Linked DNA regions of Homo sapiens: region 2 is linked to region 1. The links are contacts of gene promoters, found by promoter capture Hi-C in blood cells and fetal thymus (Javierre and others, 2016). All regions are on one chromosome and are shown on one strand. Each heading gives the region's core, a stretch centred on a gene start or on the middle of the fragment in contact. The rest is flanking DNA. Distances are from core to core; before and after follow the strand shown. Region 1 holds the start of ACSBG2 (acyl-CoA synthetase bubblegum family member 2). Region 2 overlaps RFX2 (regulatory factor X2).

Evidence for each region. Contacts are between HindIII fragments. The CHiCAGO score rates a contact against its expected background, and 5 or more counts as called.
Region 2: a fragment that was not itself captured here is called in contact with the fragment with the promoter of ACSBG2 in region 1 in 2 of 17 cell types (monocytes and neutrophils); the score reaches 5.2 in monocytes.

What each region holds. Positions count from the first base shown.
Region 1 is chr19:6,132,976-6,138,234 of GRCh38, reverse strand. ACSBG2 (acyl-CoA synthetase bubblegum family member 2) reads right to left here and starts at 2,568. Exons shown (of 15, transcript NM_030924.5): 1 at 2,326-2,568. All of the region lies in intron 3 of LOC105372255 (a long non-coding RNA gene), which reads left to right. RefSeq lists enhancers at 1,798-2,700, 2,701-3,604. The HindIII fragment of the contact is 9,635 bases long and covers 2,064-5,259 here.
Region 2 is chr19:6,064,634-6,069,892 of GRCh38, reverse strand. All of the region lies in intron 1 of RFX2 (regulatory factor X2), which reads left to right. The region is part of intron 1 of RFX2-AS1 (RFX2 antisense RNA 1); the gene reads right to left. Among named protein-coding and RNA genes, the nearest start is that of RFX2-AS1, 4.7 kb to the right of the region's middle. RefSeq lists enhancers at 3,701-3,995, 3,510-4,011. The HindIII fragment of the contact is 9,198 bases long and covers 1-5,259 here.

The DNA.
Region 1 (5,259 bases), core at 1,319-3,818:
GAAGAAATGAAGAGGGGATGTTTACTTCCTTAAAGTATGATAATTGCTTTGGGGTGAAGTTAGAGAAAGGAATCCTTGTTGCCAAAGGATTCATGCATGAAAGAACACACTGTCTGGTGCTTGCTTTAAAACTACCCACGAGGAGTGGGGTGACACAGAAATGACCAAGGCTGACTTTAAGTTGGAGCCGAGTGATAGGTAGCTGGGGGCTTATGTTATGATCAGCTCTACTTTTGTGTTTGAAACTTTCCACGATAAAAGTGTTTACAAATAAAAATGAATGCCAAGCATGGTGGCTCATGCCTGTAATCCCAGTGCTTTGGGAGGCCGAGGCGGGTGGATCACCTGAGGTCAGGAGTTCGAGACCAGCCTGGCCATGGTTCACACGGTGAAACCCTGTCTCTACTAAAAACACAAAAATTAGCCAGGCACGGCGGCAGGCACCTGTAATCCCAGCTACTCAGGAGGTTGAGGTGGGAGAATTGCTTGAACCCAAGAGGCAGAGGTTGCAGTGAGCAGAGATCTCGCCCTGCACCCCAGCCTGGGAGATAAGAGTGAAACTCCATCTCAAAAATAAATAAATAAATAAATACATAAATACATAAATAAATAAATAAAAATAAAAAAGTGAAATGCTGGCCCAACCCTGTCTCTCCTCTGCCTGCAGCCCTCCATGGCTCCCACCTCCCTCCAGGTAAAAGCGCAAGTTCTCCCCACGGTCCACAAGGCCCTGCACCTCCCTGTGCTCTCCTCCTTCCTCCCTCCCCCTCCTCACTCTGCTGCAGCCACGTGGGCCTCCTCACTGTTCTTCCAACTCACCAGGTGCAGTCCTTCCTTGGGGCCTTCGTACGGGCTGTGCCCTCTGCCTGGAACTCTCTTCCCCTCAGATAGCTGGGACTACAGAAGCATGCCACTACGCCTGGCTAATTTATTTTTATTTTTATTTTTGTAGAGCTGGGGGCCTCGCTATATTGCCCAGGCCGGTCTTGAACTCCTGGCCTCAAGCAAGCCCCCCCCCCCCCCCCAACCCCGCCACCTCGGCCTCCCAAAGTGCTGGGATTTGCAGGTGTGAGCCACCACACCAGGCCCCTCTTTTCTTTATAAATTGCCCATCTTCAGGTATTACTTTATGGCAATGCAAAATGGGCAAATAAAATTAGTATCCGGAGTATGAAAAGAACTCTGGATTTAAAAGACAAATGTAAACAACCCAGTGTTTTATGATGAAAAATGTAAACAGGCAGTTCACAAAAAAGGAGCCTGGAAAGGGCTACAAATCCTGGACAAGATGCTCAGTAGCTTTGGTCATCAGGGAACTGCACGTTAAAAATCACACGATCGGCCGGGTGCGGAGGCTCACACCTGTGATCCCAGCACTTTGGGAGGCCGTGGCAGGTGGATCACTTGAGCTCAGGAGTTCTCTACAGAGGACTTGTAAGTTACTAGTAATATTCGATTTCACGAAGTGAAAAGGGCACACAGATATTTATCGTTATTCATTAAATCGTACAGATATGCTTTGTGTTATTTTATATGCATTATATGTTTCACAATTTTAAAAGGCCATGTAGGGTTCAGATGTGGTGACTCACACCTGTAATCCCAGCACTTTGGGAGGCTGAGTCGGGTGGATCGCTTGAGGCCAGGAGTTCGAGACCAGCCTGGCTGGCATGGTGAAACCCCATCTCTACTAAAAATACAAAAATTAGCTGGGCATGGTGGCGCGTGCCTATAATCCCAGCACTTTGAGAGGTCGAGGCGGGTGGATCACCTGAGGTCAGAAGTTCAAGACCAGCCTGGCTGGTATGGCGAAACCCCATCTCTACTAAAAATATAAAAATTAGGCCGAGTATGGCGGCTCACGCCTGTAATCCCAGCACTTTGGGAGGCCAAGGCGGGTGGATCACGAGGTCAGGAGATTGAGACTATCCTGGCTAATGTGGTGAAACCCCATCTCTACTAAAAAATACAAAAAATTAGCCGGGCATGGTGGCAGGCACCTGTAGTCCCAGCTACTCAGGAGGCTGAGGCAGGAGAATGGTGTGAACCTGGGAGGCGAAGCTTGCAGTGAGCCGAGATTGCGCCTGGGCAACAGAGCAAGACTCTGTCTCAAAAAAAAAAAAAAAATTAGCTGGACATGGTGGCAGGCGCCTGTAATCTCAGCTACTTGGGAGGTTGAGGTGGGAGTATCACTTGAGCCTGGGAGGCAGAGGTTGCAGTGAGCTGAGATCGTGCCACTGCACTATAGCCTGGGCAAAAGAGTGAGACCCTGTCTCAAAAAAAAAAGAAAAGAAAACGCATGCCCTTCTCCCATACCACTGGCACCTGTCACTCTTCAAGAGGTGTGGTTCTGGCCATCTGGCAAGGCACCTGGAGCTGGGACATCTGGTCACTCAGGTGTTTTCTTCTTCCTGCAAAGACAGTCAACAGGTAGCCCCTCCTGGAAACCTGAACATGAGCTGCCCCTTCCCAGCCCCCGTCACCCTCTCCGTCCAGCCAGGATGATGGTGGTGGTGGGAGGCAGGAGGATGGGTGGTTTCCCTCCACAACAGGCCTTCTACCCCATTCAACCTTCCAGAACGTTCCATCCCAGCCACCTCTTGTGACATCACTGGCTGCCCCTGCCTCCGCACCCCACCCCCACCCCTAGGGGAAGCTGCTTCCAGGACAGGGAGATTGCTCTTTTCATGCATCATTCATTTATTCATGCATGCATGCACTTCTGCGTTGCATTCGTGACGTTTTTATGAAGCCATGACCCTAATGGCAGGGATTGTGCTGGATGCTGGAGACATAAAGATGAACAAAGCCAGATGAGGCCTGTTCAAGAAAATAAGAGGAGGCCTAGAATCACACAAACAAATGCAAACTTACCATTGTGAAGAGAGCCCCAAGGCATGTTGAGGGCTTGATCAAAGGATCCCGCCCAGGCAGGGAGTCTGGGAGTGGTTTCTTTCTTTTCTTTCGTTTTTTGAGACGGGAGTCTTGCTCTGTCACCCAGGCTGGAGTGCAATGGTGCGATCTCAGTTCACTGCAACGTCTGCCTCCCAGGTTCAAGCGATTCTCCTGCCTCAGCCTCCCGAGTAGCTGGGATTACAGGCGCCCGCCACCACGCCCGGCTAATCTTTTGTATTTTTAGTACAGACGGGGTTTCGCCATGTTGGCCAGGCTGGTCTCAAACTCCTGACCTTGTGATCCGCCCGCCTTGGCCTCCCAAAGTGCTGAGATGACAGGCGTGAGCCACCGCGCCTGGCCTGGGAGTGGTTTCTTGAGCTGGGATCTGAAGTATGCCTGGATGTTATTCCTGCCCTCGTGACTTTCTCTTACGCTGCCTGTCTTCATGTGTTTACAGCGGCCTCCCCCTTCTCGTTCTCTGCTTTAGTCACTGCTAACAATGTCCACTACCAGGCACAGTGGCTTGTGCCTGGAATCCCAGCACTTTGGGAGGCCAAGTCCGTAGCATCACTTGAGGCCAGGAGTTCAAAACCAGCCTGGGCAATGTAGTAAGACCCCGTCTCTACAGAAAAATTTAAAAAATTAGCCGGGCGTGGTGGTGCGCAAGTGTAACCACAGCTAGTAGGGAGGCTGAGGTGGGGGGATTGTTTGAGCCCAGGAGTTCCAGGCTGCAGTGAGCTGTGATGGTACCATGGCACTCCAGCCAGGCCTACAGAGCAAGACCTTGTCTCAAAACAAAAAAGACAAAACAGTGCCAGGTGCAGCACATACTAGATGCTCAGTAAATAAAGATGTAGCAACAGAATCTTGTGCTGTGCCAGGAGAAAAGGACAAGGAGTGTTCCTTTGTCTCCAGGGCCTTTTGTGTGTGTGTGTGAGAGAGAGAGAGAGACGGAGTTTGGCTCTTGTTGCCCAGACTGGAGTGCAATAGCGTGATCTTGGCTCACTGCAACCTCTGCCTCCCGGGTTCAAGCGATTCTCCTGCCTCAGCCTCCCAAGTAGCTGAGGTTACAGGCATGCACCACCACTCCCGACTAATTTTCTGTATTTTTAGTAGAGATGGGTTTTCACCATGTTGGCCAGGCTGGTCTCCACCTCGTGGCCTCAGGTGATCCACCCGCCTCAACCTTCCATGGTGCTGGGATTACAGGTGTAGCCACCGCACCTGGCCACCAGGGCCTTCTTAATGTTTCACAAATATCTACTCTGCAGAGCACCTGGGCAGCTGTGCCAGGACAGCCAGTGTCCACCAATGTCCATTCAGCCCTTCTTCCCCAGAGCTCTCACCTAAAGAGAGAGAATGTTTCCCAGGCCCCCTGACTGCATGGCGTGTCCATGTGACTACATCCTGCCCTGTGGGATGTGGGCATAAGTGGTGGGGGCCATGCCTGGTCATGCCTATAAAGGAAAGGAGGTGACACCCTTCCCCAACCCCCCATCCAGTAGAATCCTGGGATCAGGAGCAGCCTCCTTGGACAGGGGTGAAGCTGGAGGGGAGGGAGCAGGTCAAGAGGTCCCCAACAGGAGGGAAGGGACCTCTGTCTCTAAAGACAGTTGAGCCACTTTGCTGGTGCCAGACAGATTTATGCAAGTTGCACACACGCTCGCTCGCTCGCTCAGACACTCTCACGTGCACAGGTACTCACACACAAACAGACCTTCCCATGGGCACACAATCACAAGCACACTCACATACACTCACACTCATAACATGCTCCCACAATCACACCTGTTCACACAATTCAAATACTTTCATACAGACACAAACTGGCAGGCACGCACACACACACATGCGCACACACAGTCACATGTACTATCAGACACATGATTACATGCATGCACACTCATCCACAGTCATGCACATATGCAGTCACACACGTGCCTCATTATAGAGACATCCCATTTCGTACACATGTACACTGTCAGACACACAATGTGTGACAGTCACACAGTCACATTGCTCAGGCCCTCATACGCACAATTACATGCACACACACATATGGACACACATGGTCACACACACCCTCATACAGACACACAATTACACACCCACACTCACACATTCACATACATATGCACACACTTGCTCACACTCTCACCCTCGTACAGACACAATTATATATATGCATTCCCACACTCACACATATATGGACATGCGTGGTCACACAGCCTCGTACGGACACACAATTACACACACTCCCACACTCCTACACTCACATACATATGTGGGCGCTGCCAGCCAACCTCCAAGACACATACATATGCACACACATGCTCACACTCTCACACACCCTCATACAGACAC
Region 2 (5,259 bases), core at 1,422-3,921, 68 kb after region 1:
AACCCGCTCTCAGTTTCCTCTTCCAGCTGCCTCCCCATTCCTCTTCCTATCTTTCTAGCAAAAATTCCTCAAAAGAGCCATCTGGTCCTCCTGTCTCCAGTTCTGCTCCACTTGGGGCTCTCTTGAACCTGCTCCAACCTCTGTGGCTTTTGCACACACTTTTCCCCTGGAGCTCCTCTGTCACAATCACTGGTGACCTCCACTTTGCTGATTCCAGTGATCACCACTCAGCCCCAGAGTCACTTGGTTCTCAGGACACCACTTGCTTATACTTCTTTGGCCTCTTTTCAGGCTCCTGCTTCTTTGGGATCTCTAAATGGTAGACAGCCCCAGAACTCAGCCCTAGGCCTCTTCTCTCTGCTCTTCCTTGGTGAGCCCAGATAGTCTTATGGTTTTAACTAGGTCATTTATACACTGATGACTCCAGCCTACATCCTGTATACACTGGTGGCTCTAGCTCATGTTCTCTATACACTGATGGCTCCAGCCATGTCATCTATACACTGATGGCCCCATCCCATGTTCTCTATACACTGATGGCTTCAGCCCACATCCTCTAGACACTGGTGGCTCTAGGTCATGTCCCCTACACACTGATGGTTCCAGCTATGTTATCTATACATTGATGGCTCTAGTTCATATATTCTATACACTGATGGCTCCAGCCTGCATTCTCTATACACTGATGGCTCCAGCTCACCCCTCAGCCTGAGACTTATGTAATCTGCCTGCTTTCTCAGCATCTCAACCTGGGTGTCTAGGAGCCTCTCACACTTTACACCTTCAGAACTCAACTCCCAAGTGCTCTCCAGGCCTTTTTCTTGGGTAATTTTCCTGACCTCATCCTTTTAGTTGCCAAAAACCTTGGAGGTACCCTTGACCCGTCAGCAGATCTGGCTGACTCTACCTCCTATGTTTATCCAGAGTCTGACGGCTTTGCCCCTCCATGGCTCACAGCCAGGCCCCCCTCCCTTGCCCAGATTATCACATTAGCCTCCAGATTGCTCTCTCTGCTCCCACCCTTTTCCTTCTTCCCCTATTCTCAACCCAGCAGCCAGAGGGGCCTGGTTAAAATGCAAGTCAAACCAGGCCATTCCTGGGCTCAAACCTTGTGATGGCTTCCATTTACCCCAAGCAAAAGCCAGAGCCCCTACAATGGCCTGTGTGGGCCTTTCTCCTTGCCTTCTGGTTCACTCAGCTCCAGTTTCAAGCCAGGCATTGTCCCACCTCGGGGCCTTTGTACTGGCTTTTCCCTCCATTAGGAACGCTCTTCCCCAGGATATCTGGACAGCTCCGTCCCACACCTTCCTCATCTCTTTAATGAGCCCACCCAGGGAAGCATTTGACAACGCTTTAAAAATTGCAACCCCTTCCTATCCCAGCACTCCTTCTGTCTGCTTCCTTTTCCCCCTGGTACTTGTCACCATATGATATAGGGTGTCATCTGACGTACGACATATTTTTCTCACTTACCTTGTTTACTGTCCATATGCTCCTATCCTCCCGCATGGTCTAGAATAGAAACTCCATGAGGGCAGGGAATTGTGTTTTGATGACTGGTCAATGCCAGGCCCATGCTATGGATCCAATAAATATTTTATTGAAATCAATGAATGACACAGGATCTCTGTTACTCATCCTTCTGGACATGGGGTTTGGAGTCCTCACAGCCGCACCTCAATGCCTCCCTTGGGATGCAGCATCCAGGCAGAACCCAGCCGTGTCCCCTAAGCAAAGCCTCCCATGGCACCAGCTGCTGGTGATTTGACCTCCAGGACTAGCATTCAAGGTTGTCACCACATCACCACTTAGCCATACATTAACAGCCCAAGAGTCTGGCTTCAAATTCCTCATCTCCCTGCAACACAGATTCAAATTCTAACAGTATAGAATCTGTCTTCCTTTCTTCTCAGGGAGGCATGTCTATTCCATTCCTATTCTAGGAATGACTCCTGGATGATATCTTAAAAAAACAGTTTCTGTGCACTGACTGTGTCTGTCTCAAAGGGCAAACCTCCGCTGAGAGCTCCTTGAAAGGTATGCTTGGTCATGCACAAATCTATCAGCATTGTGTGCTTTTATCATCCAAAATGTTGACCCATCGAGGCTGCAGCTACATGTTGCTCATTCTATCAAAATGTTTTAAGATCCTTGGCTGGGCCCACCAAAAACAAGAGCACTGCTTAGAGCTCTGTGTTCCCCTTGAAAGGTGGTGGTGCCACTTCACCCTCTCCTGGTCCCAAAGCCTCAGAGAAGCCATGCTCAGCCTGAACTGCTCCAGGCAGAACAAAAGCTGCACTAGCTTCAGTTTAGCCCTTTTCTTTTCCCCCTTCATGGGTCGAGATTGCCCAACCATGTGCCTCCTCTTTCCGGAGATATGTGTCCCTTGTGTGTCCTGCCATCTGGGGGCATCTGATGTGGCCTGGCTTCCTCTTAGAAAAGTCTTCCTCTCTCCGGGTAGGGAGGGAAGAGCCGGCGCAGTGATGTCAAAGATATACTGTAAGTCCCTCCCGGCAAAGCCCCACAAGGCATTTCTGACGCTGAGTCAGTGGTTCCCTTTGCACTTGTTCCATACGTACATGATATTTCCAAAAGTCGTTTTAATTTGGTATCAACTCCTCTGTTTTCACACTTTTTTCCAAATAGCTTAATCCATGATTCATTTTACTTCGCCCAGAAAACACTTGTGCAGCTATGAACTCTCCCACATTGTTTGTTTGATGATAAATAGATTCTTTCCTCTTGGAGAAAAGGGCACTTTCTCCTCCCAGTACTAGGAAGGATTGAAATCCCTCCTGTGATGCCCTCTTACCTCAGAGAGAGTTGTTCCTCCTTGGGTTTTGTTATTTCAGAACAAATATGGTAAACTGTTTTCCCCTCAGTTACTATAGAGAAGAGATTATTTGCCTTTCTCTTAGGGCTTCTGAAAATAATAGATTACATATTTGAGAGGGTTTTTTTTAGATCTGGTTAATGTGAGATAGAGGGGGTTGCTCCGGGATGACATTGTTTGGTTTGGGAAGTATTCTCCCGGTTGCCCAGCAACAGGCTCTTGGAAACGGGAGTGGACTGCGTTGCCCCTGGCAACCGTTGTTACTTAGCAAACAATGAGGGCCGGGCAAACAGTGCCAAGACTGCGGACTCCAGGTTTTAATTGAACATCTGCATATATTTTTCTCTGATTAAATTTGAGTTTGATTTGCCACAACAGGCAGACATGGATCCACTCGGGATCTGCTTGAAAGAACCAATATTGTAATGTTGACTCCCAGGCTGCACAAACGCAGAGGCCCCATTGAAACAAACTTCTGGCCATTCGAATATGTCCTAGACTGCTCTCAACTGGAGACTTATTTTAGTCTTAAGTGGAATTTCTTTTTTGATCTAATTCCTGGTGTTCAGAAAATCATTACTTGTCCAACCTACTACCGTACATCACTGATAAATCCGCAATTTCTGGAGCGCTTTTCAGCACGATGCCTTCATTTCTGCTGCCTAAGAATTTCAGAAGAGCAAAGAGTTGAGCCCTGGCTGGCTCACATGTAGAGACATTCACAGATAGGGTTGGCTGAGGGTGGAAATTGGACCCAGCACCTTCTGGTTTCATGTGCTCAATGTTCCTGTTAAGAAGTTGGGTCCACCCGTGGCCCTCAGTGGGATGTGTATGTTATGTTTATTAAGAGAGGTCGCACGTTCCCACTAACAAAGTGCCCTGTTGATGGGCACTTTGCAGCCACAGGTTGGATTTTGATCAAAACAGCCTCACTCCCCCACCTCCTCCGCTGGCAAGCCAGAGATAGCGATTGTTGACAAGGGTTTGTTGCTTAGGTAAACACCACCCCTGAACTTCATTCAGAGCGGGTGACACATTTCTTCCCCTCCTCCCAGCCCCGCCCCCAGCCCCCGCCCCCACTGCCAGGGCTATAAATTCAGAACTGTTAGCCAAGACAGGTTTTTGGTGAAGACTTTATTCTTCCTCATTCATCTCGAGTGCAATCTGACTAATGCAGCAACAGCCGCAAAAGTGCCGCCTGTAACAGACACTCCAGCCCCTCACTAAAACAGCTCCTGTGGTTCCCGTGGTGAGACTCGCTTTAGTTGTATGGATTTTTTTTAAGGACGATTCACTTTGTTGCTGAATGCCCCCAAGAAAATGTTCATTGCACGTTTGTTACCGGCATTTCAGCTAATCTTAGGACTATTTAAAGTATCTAAACAAATTTCCCAACTTTCTTTTGCAGCAGAAACTTATAATGGAATGTCATTTGTGTTTTTTTTGGAGACAGAGTCTCGTTCTGTCGCCCAGGAAGCTCCGCCTCCCGGGTTCACGCCATTCTTCCGCCTCAGCCTCCCGAGTAGCTGGGACTACAGGCGCCCGCCACCGCACCCGGCTAATTTTTTTGTATTTGTAGTAGAGACGGGGTTTCACCGTGTTAGCCAGGATGGTCTCGATCTTCTGACCTCATGATCCACCTGCCTCGGCCTCCCAAAGTGCTGGGATTACAGGCATAAGCCACCGTGCCCGGCCTTTTTTTCTTAAAAAGGCAAGCTGATTAGCCATCAGCCTTATTAGATGTGATAATTAGGATCCAATGGCTGCGAGTGTTGTTGGAATGAAAATGAATAAGGTCTGACTTACACAAAGACTCCCCCAAAGATTAAAATACATTATTTGTCCTGCAACCTGTTGTAGGATAGTGGTAGAAGACCACTATATACTTAAAAAGATAAATCCTCCCAAAGAAATGCTGTTCTACCTTCTACAATATTATTTTCTGCCCAGTCCCCAGTTTAAGTAAGTCATTTTTCAGGAATTAGAGCCTCATTTAAAATTTTTTTTAAATTTATCATTTTCTTATTTCCCATGGAAGTATTTTCCCATATATCAGGCTTTGCAATTTGGGCAAACCACTTAACATCTTTAGGTAAGTTTCTTCATCTGTTTGATGAAAGAGCTGGGTTAGGTGGTTTTTAAAGGGGCCTCTCCATGCTGTGGTTTTAGATGGAAATTCTTGAATTTGAACTAGGCTCTTTCTCCGCTTCTTAAATTCCAGAATCAAATCACGACTGGAGGGGAGGTAGGAGGTAGATTGAAAAGGTCCCCTATGTGATGTTGGTGGGATCCAGAAAGCCAGCCTCCTCCTGGCCAGAATCAGTCATGGAGATGTGGAAAGAACATGCACTGCCTGTTGCCCTGCCCTCACTGGCTGTCTCTAGAGATGGCTGTCAGGAGGAAGGGTCACACAGGCAGGACGAGAC